3 separate regions of the Homo sapiens genome follow, and regions 2 and 3 are each linked to region 1. The links are contacts of gene promoters, found by promoter capture Hi-C in blood cells and fetal thymus (Javierre and others, 2016). All regions are on one chromosome and are shown on one strand. Each heading gives the region's core, a stretch centred on a gene start or on the middle of the fragment in contact. The rest is flanking DNA. Distances are from core to core; before and after follow the strand shown. Region 1 holds the start of LMBR1L (limb development membrane protein 1 like). Region 2 has its middle 23 kb from the start of TUBA1C. Region 3 overlaps TROAP (trophinin associated protein).

Evidence for each region. The method cuts DNA at HindIII sites, captures the fragments that hold promoters and counts their contacts. A CHiCAGO score of 5 or more calls a contact.
Region 2: a contact is called between a fragment that was not itself captured here and the fragment with the promoter of LMBR1L in region 1, in 11 of 17 cell types (neutrophils, total B cells, M0 macrophages and 8 more). The highest score is 13.5, in neutrophils.
Region 3: a contact is called between a fragment that was not itself captured here and the fragment with the promoter of LMBR1L in region 1, in 1 of 17 cell types (neutrophils). The highest score is 5.7, in neutrophils.

The regions. Positions count from the first base shown.
Region 1 is chr12:49,107,797-49,112,373 of GRCh38, reverse strand. LMBR1L (limb development membrane protein 1 like) reads left to right here and starts at 1,527. Exons shown (of 17, transcript NM_018113.4): 1 at 1,527-1,890. The coding sequence starts at 1,819. RefSeq lists a silencer at 781-961 and an enhancer at 1,819-2,358. The HindIII fragment of the contact is 30,486 bases long and covers 1-4,577 here.
Region 2 is chr12:49,239,907-49,244,941 of GRCh38, reverse strand. It overlaps a transcript of TUBA1C not described here. Among named protein-coding and RNA genes, the nearest start is that of TUBA1C, 23 kb to the left of the region's middle. The HindIII fragment of the contact is 3,939 bases long and covers 1,816-5,035 here.
Region 3 is chr12:49,324,865-49,329,455 of GRCh38, reverse strand. It overlaps TROAP (trophinin associated protein), which reads right to left. Exons shown (of 15, transcript NM_005480.4): 4 at 3,798-3,955; 5 at 3,572-3,709; 6 at 3,298-3,380; 7 at 2,736-2,788; 8 at 2,126-2,247; 9 at 401-529; 10 at 212-295; 11 at 2-61. Among named protein-coding and RNA genes, the nearest start is that of TROAP-AS1, 2.6 kb to the right of the region's middle. The HindIII fragment of the contact is 2,971 bases long and covers 1-2,960 here.

The DNA.
Region 1 (4,577 bases), core at 278-2,777:
GCGGCTAATGGCCAATTTTTAACTGCTCACTGAACTATGCAGCTGGATGTTGCTTTAAGAATTTAGAGGAGGTCGGGTCTGTTGGCTCACGCCTGTAATCCCTGCACTTTGGGAGGTCAAGGCAGGCCGACAGCTTGGGCCCAGGAGTTCAAGACCAGACTGAGCAACATGGCAGAATCAGCTAAGTGTGCTGGTGCCTGCCTGTGATCCCAGCTGCTCAAGAGACTGAGATGGGAAGATCACTTGAGCCTTGGAGTTGGAGGCTACAGTGAGTCGTGATCGCACCACTGCACACCAGCCTGGGCGACAGAGTGAGACTGTCTCAAAAATAAATAACTTAAAAGAAAATCTCCCTTCGTCTAAATCCTGTCTACTTCCAAGACACACACACACACACACACACACACACACACACACACACACACACACACACACACACACAAAATCTTGGCCGGACGTGGTGGCTCACGCCTGTAATCCCAGCACTTTGGGAAGCCGAGGCGGGCGGATCAACTAAGGTTGGGAGTTCAAGATGAGCCTGACCAACATGGAGAAACCACGTCTTTACTAAAAATACAAAATTAGCTGGGCGCGGTGGCGCATGCCTGTAATCCCAGTTACTTGGGAGGCTGAGGAAGGAGAATCGCTTGAACCCGGGAGGCGGAGGTTGCAGTGAGCCGAAATCACACCATTGCACTGCAGCCTGGGCAATAAGAGCGAAACTCCGTCTCAAAAATAAATAAAGAAATAAAAGCTGAATCACAACATCTTCCTCTGAAGTGTTGTTGTGACGTTAAAAATGAGATAATAGGCTGGGTGGGTCACGCCTTGTAATCCCAGTACTTTGGGAGGCCCATCACTTTGAGACTAGGAGTCCGAGATCAGCCTGGGTAACATGGCTGAGATAACGACTATAAAGTGAATGGCACATAGTAAGTGGTTAGCTAATGTTTGACTCAGCCCCACTCTTCAGTGATCCTTGTGGGCATTTCTTCACAAAGTTGCAAGGTATTTCTGTAGTCCTCTCTCCAGTATTTTTCAGTATTTGTTCTAGCACACACTAGGTCTTCCACAAAAATGATTGAATGAAAACTCCTGGCAGCGGGAAAGCGGGGTGGGGATGTGGGGAGGGGCACCCCAACACAAACACACAGAAAATGCTACTACAGAACATCGGTTACTGGGCAGCGGTACATTTCAGAACCCCTAGGGTGCCCTCACATCCTGCCTGGCTGGCCTGCTTCAAACGGTTCATTTAACCAAGGTCATACTAAAATGTTGGCTGCTACTAAAATCCAGGAACCTTCACTTTTCCCAGATAAGAGAGACAGTTGCTCTATTAGTATGGGCAGCGGTAGGCCCAAAAGATCCCGCCTTCCTCCACAGGGCGAGCCTATCAGCGCTCCTCCAGCGATGAACGACAGCTCTCCAGGAGCCAATGAGTTCCTCCCCCTGGAAGGAACCCGCCCATCCCTTGTGTCGTCACTAGATCTCTTAAAAAGATGGACCCTCAGCGGCGCTTCCTCGTAGCGAGCCTAGTGGCGGGTGTTTGCATTGAAACGTGAGCGCGACCCGACCTTAAAGAGTGGGGAGCAAAGGGAGGACAGAGCCCTTTAAAACGAGGCGGGTGGTGCCTGCCCCTTTAAGGGCGGGGCGTCCGGACGACTGTATCTGAGCCCCAGACTGCCCCGAGTTTCTGTCGCAGGCTGCGAGGAAAGGCCCCTAGGCTGGGTCTGGGTGCTTGGCGGCGGCGGCTTCCTCCCCGCTCGTCCTCCCCGGGCCCAGAGGCACCTCGGCTTCAGTCATGCTGAGCAGAGTATGGAAGCACCTGACTACGAAGTGCTATCCGTGCGAGAACAGCTATTCCACGAGAGGATCCGCGAGTGTATTGTGAGTGCGGGGCCCCGGCGAGGAGAAGCGGGGGTTGCGGGAGACGGGGAGGTTGGGGTCCGAGCCCACCTGGTCTCAGAGTGCCGTCAAACCATGCCTGGGCCAGCGGCGGGCGACGGAGGCCTCCGTCCGGGCAGAAGGGCGGGTGCCCGGCTAGCGATCCCCTAGATGGGATCAGCTGGGTCCCTGAGCGATAAACAAAGGCCGTCGTTTCCGTTCCTCCCCCACACGCCCCTCCCCTGCCCCTCCCTCCCACCCCTCACCCAGCGCGTCTTCCTGTTGGGGGTCTCCGGGGTCTGAGAGCCTGCGGAGTCTGCCTTAGTCTGATAATCGGGGAAGGATGGGTTTGCTTCTCAAACTGGGTTGAGGGCAAACTCAGCTGACGTTGGATGAAGGGGAGACGTCGTCACACTGAGCTTGATTCCAGAAAAGAGGGGAGGTGTAGGGATGGCAGACGGGAGGAACCTGGGGACTTGGTGGGTCATCTGCTTTGGAAGAAAGGAGTCTTGCTGGGGTGGATCCTAATATGTAGAGATGAGGAACAACCAAGTATTCCCCCGTCTTTTTTCTTTCTCATTGGTGTTTGTTTGAAACCCTGCAAGGCTGGGTTCCCAGCCTCTCAGCCATTCCGGGGTTTCCCCAGTGAGTGGTCCTCCCAGGGCTTCAGAGGGTACCTGGCTGCTGTTCCTTACGCCCTCCCTGCCACTTAGAGCGACAACTGAACCTTGCGCACAGAAGTGGACTACTCAATTCTGGGGTAGGGGTACCCAGTGGAGCTTAGGGTGTCATATCTTTCTCAGCCTTGCTTTGAATTTTCACCTCTCTCCTTTCTCCTGTGTCCTTCCCCAGAGCTCACCAGGGCAACCCTCATCTCCAGATAGTAAATGGAAAGGGAATGGTTTGGAAAAACAGAAAGAAATGTTAGTAAGTGTGGGAATCCATTGTTGGGGTCATTCCCTTCATTTTTCTCAGGCTGGGCTCTAGCCAGCCCTGGGCAGCCTGATTGGAGGAGGGGTAAATTGAGCCAGGACATAATTAGGTCTGCTCTTATCTGTGAGGACAGGAAAGTATATTAGTCTGTGTGTGCAACTCCAGTAGAAGTGTGCTTTCGGCAAGCCTTCCTTGTGTGTTTCTTGGTGGACAGTCCACATGGTGGGTTGGGCATATTGCAGAGGCACACCCAGGCCTTGAGACAGTGTCGGGCTGGAGGCTCAAATTCCTAGAGAACAGGGAGGGATGAGACCTTGGACAGAAGCAGCCTCCTGGATGTCTCCCTAATCCTTTAGTCCCATGAGCTGAGAACATCAGTGCTGGCTAAGGGTAGCCTGAAGACTTATGGTGCCTCCCCCACCTGGCTCTCATCTAGAGGCTAGAGAGCAGCCTAGCTTCTTGGAACTGCGTGGAACTCCAGCCTGACCTTTTGAGCCCTCCCACCTTCCTGGCTATTACGCAAGCCCAGAGCAGAACACAGGCTATAAAAATCTTGCAGCTACAATCTGAGTGGCTCCTTCTGTTCTGCTTCCCTAATATCAAAAGCTATGACTTTGTTCTAGATCGATGGCTCTCCTGCGTCTCTGTGGATTCTTCCCTCCTTGTACAGATAGCTGTATGTGTTTTCCTTGTGGGGTCAGCCCTTTCTGGAGACTGGAAGACCCATGAGACTGATCTTGTATTCTTGGCCTATCTCAAACACAATAACTTCTCTTCTTGAGACTCTCTGGTGTTTTTTTTGTTTTGTTTAGTTTTGTTTTTGACCTAGTCTCACTCTGTCGCCCAGGCTGGAGTGCAGTGGCGTTATCTCTGCTCACTGCAACCTCCGCCTCCCAGGTTCTAGTGATTCTTGTACCTCAGCCTCCCGAGTAGCTGGGATTACAGGCACCTGCCACCACACACGGCCTTTTTTTTTTTTTTTTTTTTTTTTTGAGACTCAGTCTTGCTCTGTTGCCAGAGCTGGAGTGCAGTGGCACAATCTCGGCTCACTACAACCTCCGCCTCCCGGGTTCAAGCAATTCTCCTGCCTCAGCCTCTCAAGTAGCTGAGACTACAGGTGCATGCCACCACGCCTGGCTAATTTTTGTATTTTTAGTAGAGACAGGGTTTCGCCATGTTGGCCAGGATGGTCTTGATCTCTTGACCTCGTGATCCTCCCGCCTCGGCCTCCCAAAATGCTGGGATTATAGGCGTGAGCCACTGCGCCCAGCCAATTTTTGTAATTTTTTTTGAGATGGAGTCTTGCTCTGTCACCCAGGCTAGAGTGCAGTGGCGCCATCACAGCTCACTGCAACCTCCACCTCCTGAATTCAAGTGATTCTCCTGCCTCAGCCTCTTGAGTAGCTGGGATTACAGGTATGCACCACCACACCCAGCTAATTTTTGTTTTTTTAGTAGAGATGGGGTTCCACCATGTTGGTCAGGCTGGTCTTGAACTCCTGACCTCATGATCCTCCCACTGTGGCCTCCCAAAGTGCTGAGATTACAGGCGTGAGCCTCAACGCCCAGCCCAATTTTTGTATTTTTAATAGAGACGGGGTTTCACCATGTTGGCCAGGCTAGTCTTGAACTCCTGACCTCAAGTGATTCATCTGCCTCGGCCTCCCAAAGTGCTGGGATTACAGGTATGAGCCACAGTGCCTGGCGGAGACTCTCTGTTCTTGATTATAGAGCCAAGCTGGCCAATGGCTCCTCCT
Region 2 (5,035 bases), core at 2,536-5,035, 130 kb before region 1:
ATAATACCTGGGGTGTTATTATAAAGTTATTATAAGGAAGGTGTGGTCTGAGCAAGCATCTGGGAGGATGCTTCAGAGTCCTTTCCCAACATAGTATTTGTCAGGAGGTCTGAGCTCCTGTTCAGACTGTGAGTCTGGGATGGCCTTCAATCTCATTTTCCATCCTTACACACAGTGGAGACATGACTGGTGGGAATGCAGGGATAAGATCATGAAAACTCTTTGATATTATATCCATTAGACACAACTATAAGGTATTATTATGCCTTATTATGATGTACTTTGTGAACTCTAAAGAATCCCCTCTCTGGGATCATGCCATTGAACTCCAGCCTGGGCAACAAGAATGAAACTCCATCTCAAAAGAAAAAAAAAAATACCTCTCTGGGAAAATTTGGTCATAATAGAATTTCTAAAAATAGGGAAGCTACTCAAATTACTTCCCTTAACTTCCTTCTTCCCTGGACATTTGAACATTTTGAAGATACCGTAGATATCTTCAAAAGACCACGACTATAGATGTAAATTCTTCTTAATCACAAGCTTTCCCATTTTTAGATGTTTCTTCTAAGAAGACATAGTCTCCCAAATCAGAAGGGAAACATCCATTTTGTGGTAAAAGATGGAGAAGGAGAAACATGACCAAACAATGTGTGGAATTTGAAAATGAAAATACTGTGGTGAGTGGTGAGGCCATTTAGAGCCCCATTTAGGGCCTTGCTGAAAATTCAGCTGTTTCTGCAGGCAATACATGTTTTAAAGCAGATTTTTTTTTCTTTTTTTTTTTTTTTTGAGACAGAGTCTCACTCTGTCACCAAGGCTGGAGTGCAGTGGCACAATCTCGGCTCACTGCAACCTCCACCTCCTGGGTTCAAGTGATTATCGTGCCTCAGCCTCCCGAGTAGCTGGGATTACAGGTGCCCGCCACCACACCCAGGTAATTTTTAAATTATTTGTAGATACGGGATCTCGCTGTGTGGCCCAGACTGGTCTTGACATCCTGACAGCAAGAGATCCTCCCACCTTGGTCTCCCAAAGCACTGGGATTATAGGCACGAGCCACCATGCCTGGCCTAAAGTTTTTCTTTTAATGAGATAGTATTACAAGTCTCAATTTCCAGGTTCTAAACCACCAAATGTACCCTTTCCTTAAAGGGAACTGCCTGAGAATGGTTTGCAATGAGCTGATTTTTCTTTTCCAGCCTCCCCTTCCCAAGTCCTCTTAGCCTTCACAGCAAAAAGATTGAGGCTGTAGTGAACCATGATTGCACCACTGCACTCCAGCCTGGGCGATAGAGCAAGACTCTGTCTCAAAATAAATAAATAGATAAAATAATAAAAATCAAAAACAAAAAGCTATCCCTTAGCCATCCTGAACTATGCTATGTGCGATGTTCCCAAGCAAAGGGATAATTGGAGAAGCATCATGACTGACGGAGGAGCTCCTGAGAGCCAAGTAAGAAGCACTCACAGGGTAGCACCTGATTTCTTTTTTTTTCTGGAGATGGAGTCTCACACTGTCACCCAGGCTGTAGGGCAGTGGTGCAATCTTGGCTCACTGCAACCTCTGTCTCCCAGATTCAACCAATTCTCCCGCCTTAGCTTGGCTAGTAGCTGGGACTCCAGGCGCGCGCCACCAGCTATTTTTTGTATTTTTAGTAGAGATGGGGTTTTCTCCATGTTGGCCAGGCTGGTCTTGAACTCCTGACCTCAGGTGATCCGCCCACCTTGTCCTCCCAAAGTGCTAGGATTACAGGCATGAGCCACCGCAACCAGCCTGCACCTTATTTCATCTTAACAAATTCACGGCAAGCTTCTTAGAATTGGAAGTCACGACCGGGCACGGTGGTTCACACCTGTAATCCCAGCACTTCCAGAGGCTGAGGCAGGCAGATTACTTGAGCCTAGAAGTTCGAGACCAGCCCGAGCAACATGTCAAAAACCCTGTCTCTATTAAAAATACAAAAATTAGCTGGGTGTGGTGGTGCATGCGCCTGTAGTCCCAGCTACTCAGGCCACTAAGGTGGGAGGATCAGCTTGAGCCTGGGAGGCAGAGGTTGCAGTGAGCTGAGATCACACCATTGCACTGCAGCTTGGGCAACAGAGTAAGACCCTGTCTCAAAACAACAACAACAGAATTAGAAGTCACAGATGAGCCAGGCGCGGTAGCTCATACCTGTATTCCCAGCACTTTGGGAGGCCGAGGCAGGAGGATTGCTTGAGACTAGGAGTTTGAGAACAGCCTGGGCAACACAGGGAGACCCTGTCTGTATAAATAACAACAACAACAAAAAAATTAGCTGGAAATTAGCTGGGTGTGGTGGTGTGCACCTTCAGTCCCAGCTACTCGGGAGGCTGAGGTGGGAGGATTGCTTGAACCTGGGGATTTGAGGCTGCAGTGAGCTAGGATTGTGCCACTGCACTCCAGCCTGAGTGACAGAGCAAGACCCCATCTCAACACAAAACAAAACAAAAACACACACAACACAAAACAAAAAAACAAAATAACTCCATTTGACTGATTGGTTTGGCCATGGGGACTGGTTTTGCTAGTTAAGTAATATTTTCTACAAATGGAAGGAGCTAGATCTGTGGCTCCAAACCACATTTTTTTCCTCATGCCACCTTGTCTAAGAAGGCTGTAAACTTTTGGCCGGGTGCAGTGGCTCACACCTGTAATCCCAGAACTTTGGGAGGCCAAGACAGGTGAATTGCTTGAGGCCAGGAGTACAAAACCAGCCTGGCCAACATGGTGAAACCCCATCTCTACCAAAAATACAAAAAATTAGCCAGGTGTGGTGGCGGGCACCTGTAATCCCAGTTACTCGGGAGGCTGAGGCAGGAGAATCACTTGAATCCAGGAGGCGGAGGCTGCAGTGGGCTGAGATCACGCCACTGCACTCCAGCCTGGGCAACAAGAATGAAATTCTGTCTCAAAAAAAAAAAAAAAGAAAGAAAGAAGGCTCTAAGTTTTGATGAAAATATGTATAAAGGCTGGGCACAGTGGCTCACACCTGTAATCCTAGCACTTTGGGAGGCTGAGGTGAGCGGATTGCCCAAGCTCAGGAGTTCGTGACCAGCCTGGGCAACATAGTAAAACCCAATCTCTACTAAAATACAAAAAATTAGCCGGGCGTGTCGGCGTGCGCCTGTAGTCCCAGCTACTTGGGAGGCTGAGGCAGGAGAATTGCTTGAATCCGGGAGGCAGAGGTTGCAGTGAGCTGAGATCGCGCCATTGCACTCCAGCCTGGGGGCAGAGCGAGACTCTCAAAAAAGGAAGGAAGGAAGGAAGAAAGGAAGGGAGGAAGGAAGGCAGGGAGGGAGGGAGGGAGGGGAGGAAAATATGTGTAAAGCATTTATCATACACCAGAAATTGCATGAATTGTAACTATTTCAAGTTCTGATGACCACTGCCTTAAACTCACACTCACATCATAATCACCCCATCTTACCTCCTGTCAGTCCCTTCAGGCTGAAGCAAACCACATTCATGCTCCTTGTCACTCTTCCAGGTCTATACCTTTGTATGTGGTCCTGCCAGTTCCTCCAATGGAAACACCTTTCCCTCCCATCTCAGTGTTGAATCCTACCTAACATTTGCCTGGTCTGAGGCACTAGTTAGGCACTGGGGGTGCAAAATGAACATGATAATCTTGGCCCCATTCTCATAAAATTTAAGTGTCTGGTATGGAAGACACAGATAAATCATATTATATATGGTATTATAAGAGCTAAGATGGGACCAGGCATGGTGGCTCAAGCCTGTAATCCTAGCACTTTGGGAGGCCGAGGCGGGCGGTTCACCTGAGGTCAGGAGTTCAAGACCAGCCTGGCCAACATGGTGAAACCCTGTCTCGACTAAAAATACAAAAATTTGCTGGCCGTGGTGGTGCACTCCTATAGTCCTAGCTACTTGGGAGGCTGAGGCGGGAGAATCGCTTGAACCCAGGAGGCAGAGATTACAGTAAGCTGAGATCTCGCCACTGCCCTCCAGCCTGGGTGACAGAGTGAGACTCCATCTCAAAAAGAAAAAAAGAGCTATGATGGGCTGGGGGCAGTGGCTAATGCCTGTAATCCCAACACTTTGTGAGGCTGAGGTGGGAGAACCGCTTGAACCCAGGAGTTCAAGAACAGCCTGGACAATGTAGTGAGAGTCCATCTCTACAAAAAAATAATAATAAAAAAAATTAGTCCAGTGTGGTGGTGCACGCCTGTAGTGCCAGCTACTCGGAAGGCTGAGGCAGAAGGACCACTTGAGCCCGGGAGGTCGAAGTTGCACTGAGCAGTGTTCGCACCACTGCACTCGAGCATGGGTGACAGAGAGAGACCCTGTCCCAAAAATAAATAAGTAGATAAAAGAGCCACAATGGGGAACTTGGAGGTGCTGCCAACTCACAGCAGGGGCACCCTGTGGGGGTCCAGGAAGTGGCCAGAAAGCCAAGACCCTCTGATAAGCCTGATATTTTGTGGGGAGAGGAGAGAAGAGGACTGATCTATACTGAAAACACAAAAATGAGTTGAATTGATATTTTTAAGGCAGTTCCTCTGTGGAATCAGGATTTCAATGTGAGGGACACACTTAACTCTAGGGTCCAGATAGAAACTACTGAATTTAGTGTTTCTTTCTTTTTTTTTTTTTTTTTTTCAGAGAATGGTCACATATTCTCAAAAGCCCAATTATAGAACAAGCTGAAAGTCAAGGGAGAGGTCATCTCCAGAAAAGTTTTCCCCTTGCTTTTTGCCAAACATAAATATTTGAATCCTGAGTTCAACTGCCAGGGGAGTGGGCAGCCTTTTTATATTGGCGTCCCCAAAAATAATGCTCAGAGAATGCTCTTGGGATGTCTGTGAGGAAAAAGGCAGGGTGTGTGTGTGTGTGTGTGTGTGTGTGTGTGTGTGTGTGTGTCTGTGCTCTGAGGGTGGAGGCACCCTCCTAGCAAACAAGCAACTGAAATAAGCAGAACAACAAGAGAAAACAGTTTCAAGGGACTGACTTGTGCCACACAAGTGGAATATCCCACTGCTCTACCTCCCG
Region 3 (4,591 bases), core at 226-2,725, 220 kb before region 1:
CCCAGGGCAGGGCAGGATCTTCAGAGCAGGACTGAGGGGAGACACCACGCAGCCACTGGGCCTGGCACAGAAGTGAGATGTCAGCAAGGGCTGACACCCACAGATGGCACTCAGCCTCCCCTTGCTTCTGTCTTCTCTCTCCTGTACCCATCCATCTCCTTTCTCCCCTAGCTGTGACTTATGCCAGCCACCTCTCCATGCCCTCTCTTACCTGCTGAACTCTGGGGGTTGATGGCATGGGTGTGAACCGGGTTTTAGGTTGAACGGTGAGACGCCGCAACACTGAATATGAGGTCTGGGGAGAGATGTGGGTGGCTGAGCAGGGACAAAACCCAGACATAGCAAGGATCTCCGGCCAGACTGTTCTGCCCCTGCCCAGCCCCCAGTTGTTGACACAAACCAGAGTTGGAGGGCCTGGGGAGGGTACACGCTGAGCCCGTCCAAAGGGTGATGGACATGGCACCACATGGCCAGGCAAGGGCTGGGCCACAGGGGCAGGGGAGGGCATCAGGTGGGAGTCATGGCTGTCCTGTGAAGAAGAAAAAGGTGGAAGAGTGATCCCCGCCCCCTTTGTCTTCCTATTTTTTTTTTTGATACGGAGTCTCGCTCTGTCACCCAGGATGGAGTCCAGTGGCGCGATCTTGGCTCACTGCAAGCTCCGCATCCCGGGTTCACACCATTCTCCTGCCTCAGCCTCCCGAGTAGCTGGGACTACAGGTGCCCGCCACCATGCCCGGCTAATTTTTTGTATATTTAGTAGAGATGGGGTTTCACCATGTTAGCCAGGATGGTCTCGATCTCCTGACCTCGTGATCTGCCCGCCTCGGCCTCCCAAAGTGCTGGGATTACAGGAGTAAGCCACCACGCCTGGCTGTCTTCCTATATCGTGTTCTCACTACAGCAGCCAGTGTGATTCTTTTAAGACCTAAGTCAAGCCGGGCATGGTGGCTCAGGCCTGTAATCCCAGCACTTCGGGAAGCCGAGGAGGGTGGAGCACCTGAGGTCAGGAGTTTGAGACCAGCTTGACCAACATGGAGAAATCCTGTCTCTACTAAAAATACAAAATTAGCCAGGCGTGGTGGTGCATGCCTGTATTCCCAGCTACTCGGAGGCTGAGGCAGGAGAATCACTTGAACCCAGGAGGCAGAGGTTGCAATGAGCGGAGATCGTGCCATTGCACTCCAGCCTGGGCAACAAGAGTGAAACTCCATCTCAAAAAAAAAAAAAAAAAAAAAAAAAAAGACCTAAGTCAAATCATGTCACTTTCTTGATCAACCCCTCTCCCCATGGCTTTCCACTCATTCCAAGACAAGCCAAAGACTTACACTGGTGTACAATTCCTTACCCAATCTGATCGTGTTATCGCTAAAACCCTATCTCCTACTGTTCTTCTTACTCTGCTTCAATCTCACTGGCCTCTCCTTTTTGCTGATCCTCAAACACACCAGGCACATTCCCTCCCCAGGGCCTTTACCTCTTCAGTTCTCTTGGCCTGGAATGTTCCTTCCCCCAGATATCAACATATCTCACTCCTCCTCCAACCCCTGGTCTTCACTTAAACATCATCTTCTCAGTAAGAGTTCCCTGACAAATCTATTTTAAATTGCAATACCAACTCCCCTGCTCCCAATTCTCCTTTAGTGCCTTATTATTATTATTATTATTATTTTAGAGAGAACTTACCATCATCTGAGACACTATTTATTTTATACCTGTGTTTATTTCTTGTCTCCCCCTTCTAGAATATGAACTTGTTTACTGCTATATGTCCAGAGCCTAGAACAGAGCCTGGCACTCAGTAGGCTGGTGCTACTCAGTAAATATTTGTGGAGCCAAGGGATGAATGCTTTTGGCTGACAAGTGTCAGATCTGTCTCACCCTTAGCACTGATCTGATGGTGATACAAATATGACCTCTCACCCTAGGCCCCAGACATCTGATAAAGAGAGGTCAGTCTCACATTGGAGAGGGACTGGGTGCATCTGGGGTAAACCTACCCAGTAACATCCTGAGGCCCAGGACTTCCTGGCTCTACCTACAATTCTCAGTGTTGGCTGCTGCAGCAAAATTCTTCCAAGCAACTCCTGCACCTCCCACCCACCATCCCAGGAGAGTCGCATCTCACCCTGGTATGTGACATTTCTCGGTTTTCTCTTAATGGTACTCGCTGGGCCAGACCAAGAGAGGCCACACCTCCTTCATCTGAGTGAGTGACAACCTCGCGTTCTCCTTTAGGAAGAGAGAAAGCTAGGAAGAAACAGGACATTTGTTGTAGACTCTAGAACACCCACCAAAGTTTGGCACAGTGTTCTGCAACTTCTGAAGAGGGTATATTAGTTTAATAGGCCCCATTGCACTATTAGGGACAGGAACCCATCCAGCAGCCCCTCAACACCCAACACTATCTCAGTAAACACTTATTAATCTGAACGTCTGAGTAGGCTGGGGATGTGGTGATGGCACTTAGGGGCTGGGGATAAACAGTGAGTGGAAGATAAATCTTGCAGGAAGTGGCAGAGAGAGGGCCGAAATGGAGACCATCTCCTTAGACAAAAGTGCAACTGTGCCAATCGCTGGCCTATCTAGAAGGTCTCTTCTCCTTCTCCTTCTGACCTAGCCTCCCGGCCTCCCACTTCCTCATGCTCCCTCCCAGCCTGCTGAGTTTTCTCTGGTCTTGTTCCCTGCTTCAGGCAGCCCAACTGCCCCTGTTCTCTCCCCACGCCAGAAACACTTACCAGGCTGGACTGGGGTCTCCAGGAGCAATCCTGAGGCCTGGCTCACTGAAGTCCTGATGACAATAAGGACATTAGCCAGCAGTCACTGAATACCAAGTATGAGCTGGACATGTGCTAAGTGCTTTACAAACATCATCTCATTTCATTCTCATGACAACTAATGATGGTACAAATGTTATTCTCACTTGACAAAGAAACCAAAGCTCAGAGAGGTGAAGGCAAGCTTGCACAAATAGTAAGTGTTAAGAGTTAGGATATAAACCCAAATCCCACTTATTGCCACAGTCTATACTCTAGCCACTAAACAAAAGAGATAGCACATTTCTGTCCTCCCTGTCCCCCCATGACTTGAGTAAACTGATGTCACACTGAGGCCTGGCTGTGAAAGCCTGAACCCTATCCCAAGGGCTCATCCCGGGTAATCACAGGTTTCTTGCTTCCCCTCCTGAGTTGGTGGGGAGTCCTAAAGCTCCTGGAAGGCCCCAACTCTGGGGGACTCCTGTATCAGACACTGGTTCATTCTTTTCCAGATGACCTTCTCCCACACCCTCTCCTTTCTCACCGGCTGCTGCCAGCTGTCTCCCTTCTTAGCTCCTGGAAACTGGGGCGAGTGGAAGGGTGAAAGGAAGGTCCTGAAGGTGAAATCTGATCCACAGGAGCAAGAGATGAAAACGGAATCAGAGGTGGACCCCAAACCCTCAGGCCTCACCACCAACCCCATCTCCCCCAGTAGGATCCCTTGCCTCATCATGAGGTACCTCTTCTCCCAGAGCCCAGCTTTGTCCCTGGAAGGAGCTCCCAGAAGCACCGACTATCAGCCCCTCAAGGGCACTCACCAGAGCCTGTAGCCTCTGGGGGCACAATGTCCGGCCTCGAGGTCCTGGTCCCTCCAGCCTAGAGAAGCAGGAAGCCCTGGCAGGGTCCAGTCGGTGGGTGGGGGTTCTGGGGGCCAAATATGCAGAGGCCCGAACACCCTGGGACACCAACAGAGGCTGTCAGCACTGCTCAGGATGCCCCCCTCAGTGCCCCCTAGCCTGGTCTCCTCACATCCTGTTTCATTACCTGGACCCTCTGGGTGGTGCCTCCCTGACTTCCTCGAACCAGTACTCTTTTAGCCAGACTAGGCTGGCGCCCCAGGTGACAGCTCTTCACACCCTCACCTGACAGGATGGTGGCCAGGGCTGCAGGGTCAGCCACAAACTCTATGGTCCCTGGAGCCTCTGCAAGGAAAGAGGAGAAGGAAAAGGAAGGGGGAAGGCTGAGGGGGATAGGGCCCCTAGCATAGGAACTTTGAGGTACAAGGTGAGCAAGAGACTCATTCAATTGAATTTGGCTTATTTTTTTTTTTTTTTTTAAGAAATAGATGGCTGGGTGCAGTGGCTCATGCCTGTAATCCCAGCACTTTGGGAGGCCGAGGCGGGTGGATCACCTGTGGTCAGGAGTTTGAGACCAACCCGGCCAACATAGCAAAACCCTGTCTCCACTAAAAAAATACAAAAATTGGCTGGGTGCGGTAGCTCACTCCTGTAATCCCAGCACTTTGGGAGGCTGAGGCAGGTGGATCACCTGAGGTCAGGAGTTTGAGACCAGCCTGGCCAACATGGTAAAACCCCATCTCTACAAAAAACAAAAACAAAAAAAAATTAGCTGGACCTGGTGGCGCGCGCCTGTAGTACCAGCTACTCAGGAGGCTGAGGCTGGAGAATCACTTGAACCTGGGAGGTGGAGGTTGCAATGAGCCAAGATCGTGCCACTGCACTCCAGCTTAGTGACAGAGTGAGACTCTGTCTCAAAAAAAAAAAAAAAAAAAAGAAAGAAAACAAAAATTAGCTGGGTGTGGTGGCAGGTGCTGGTAA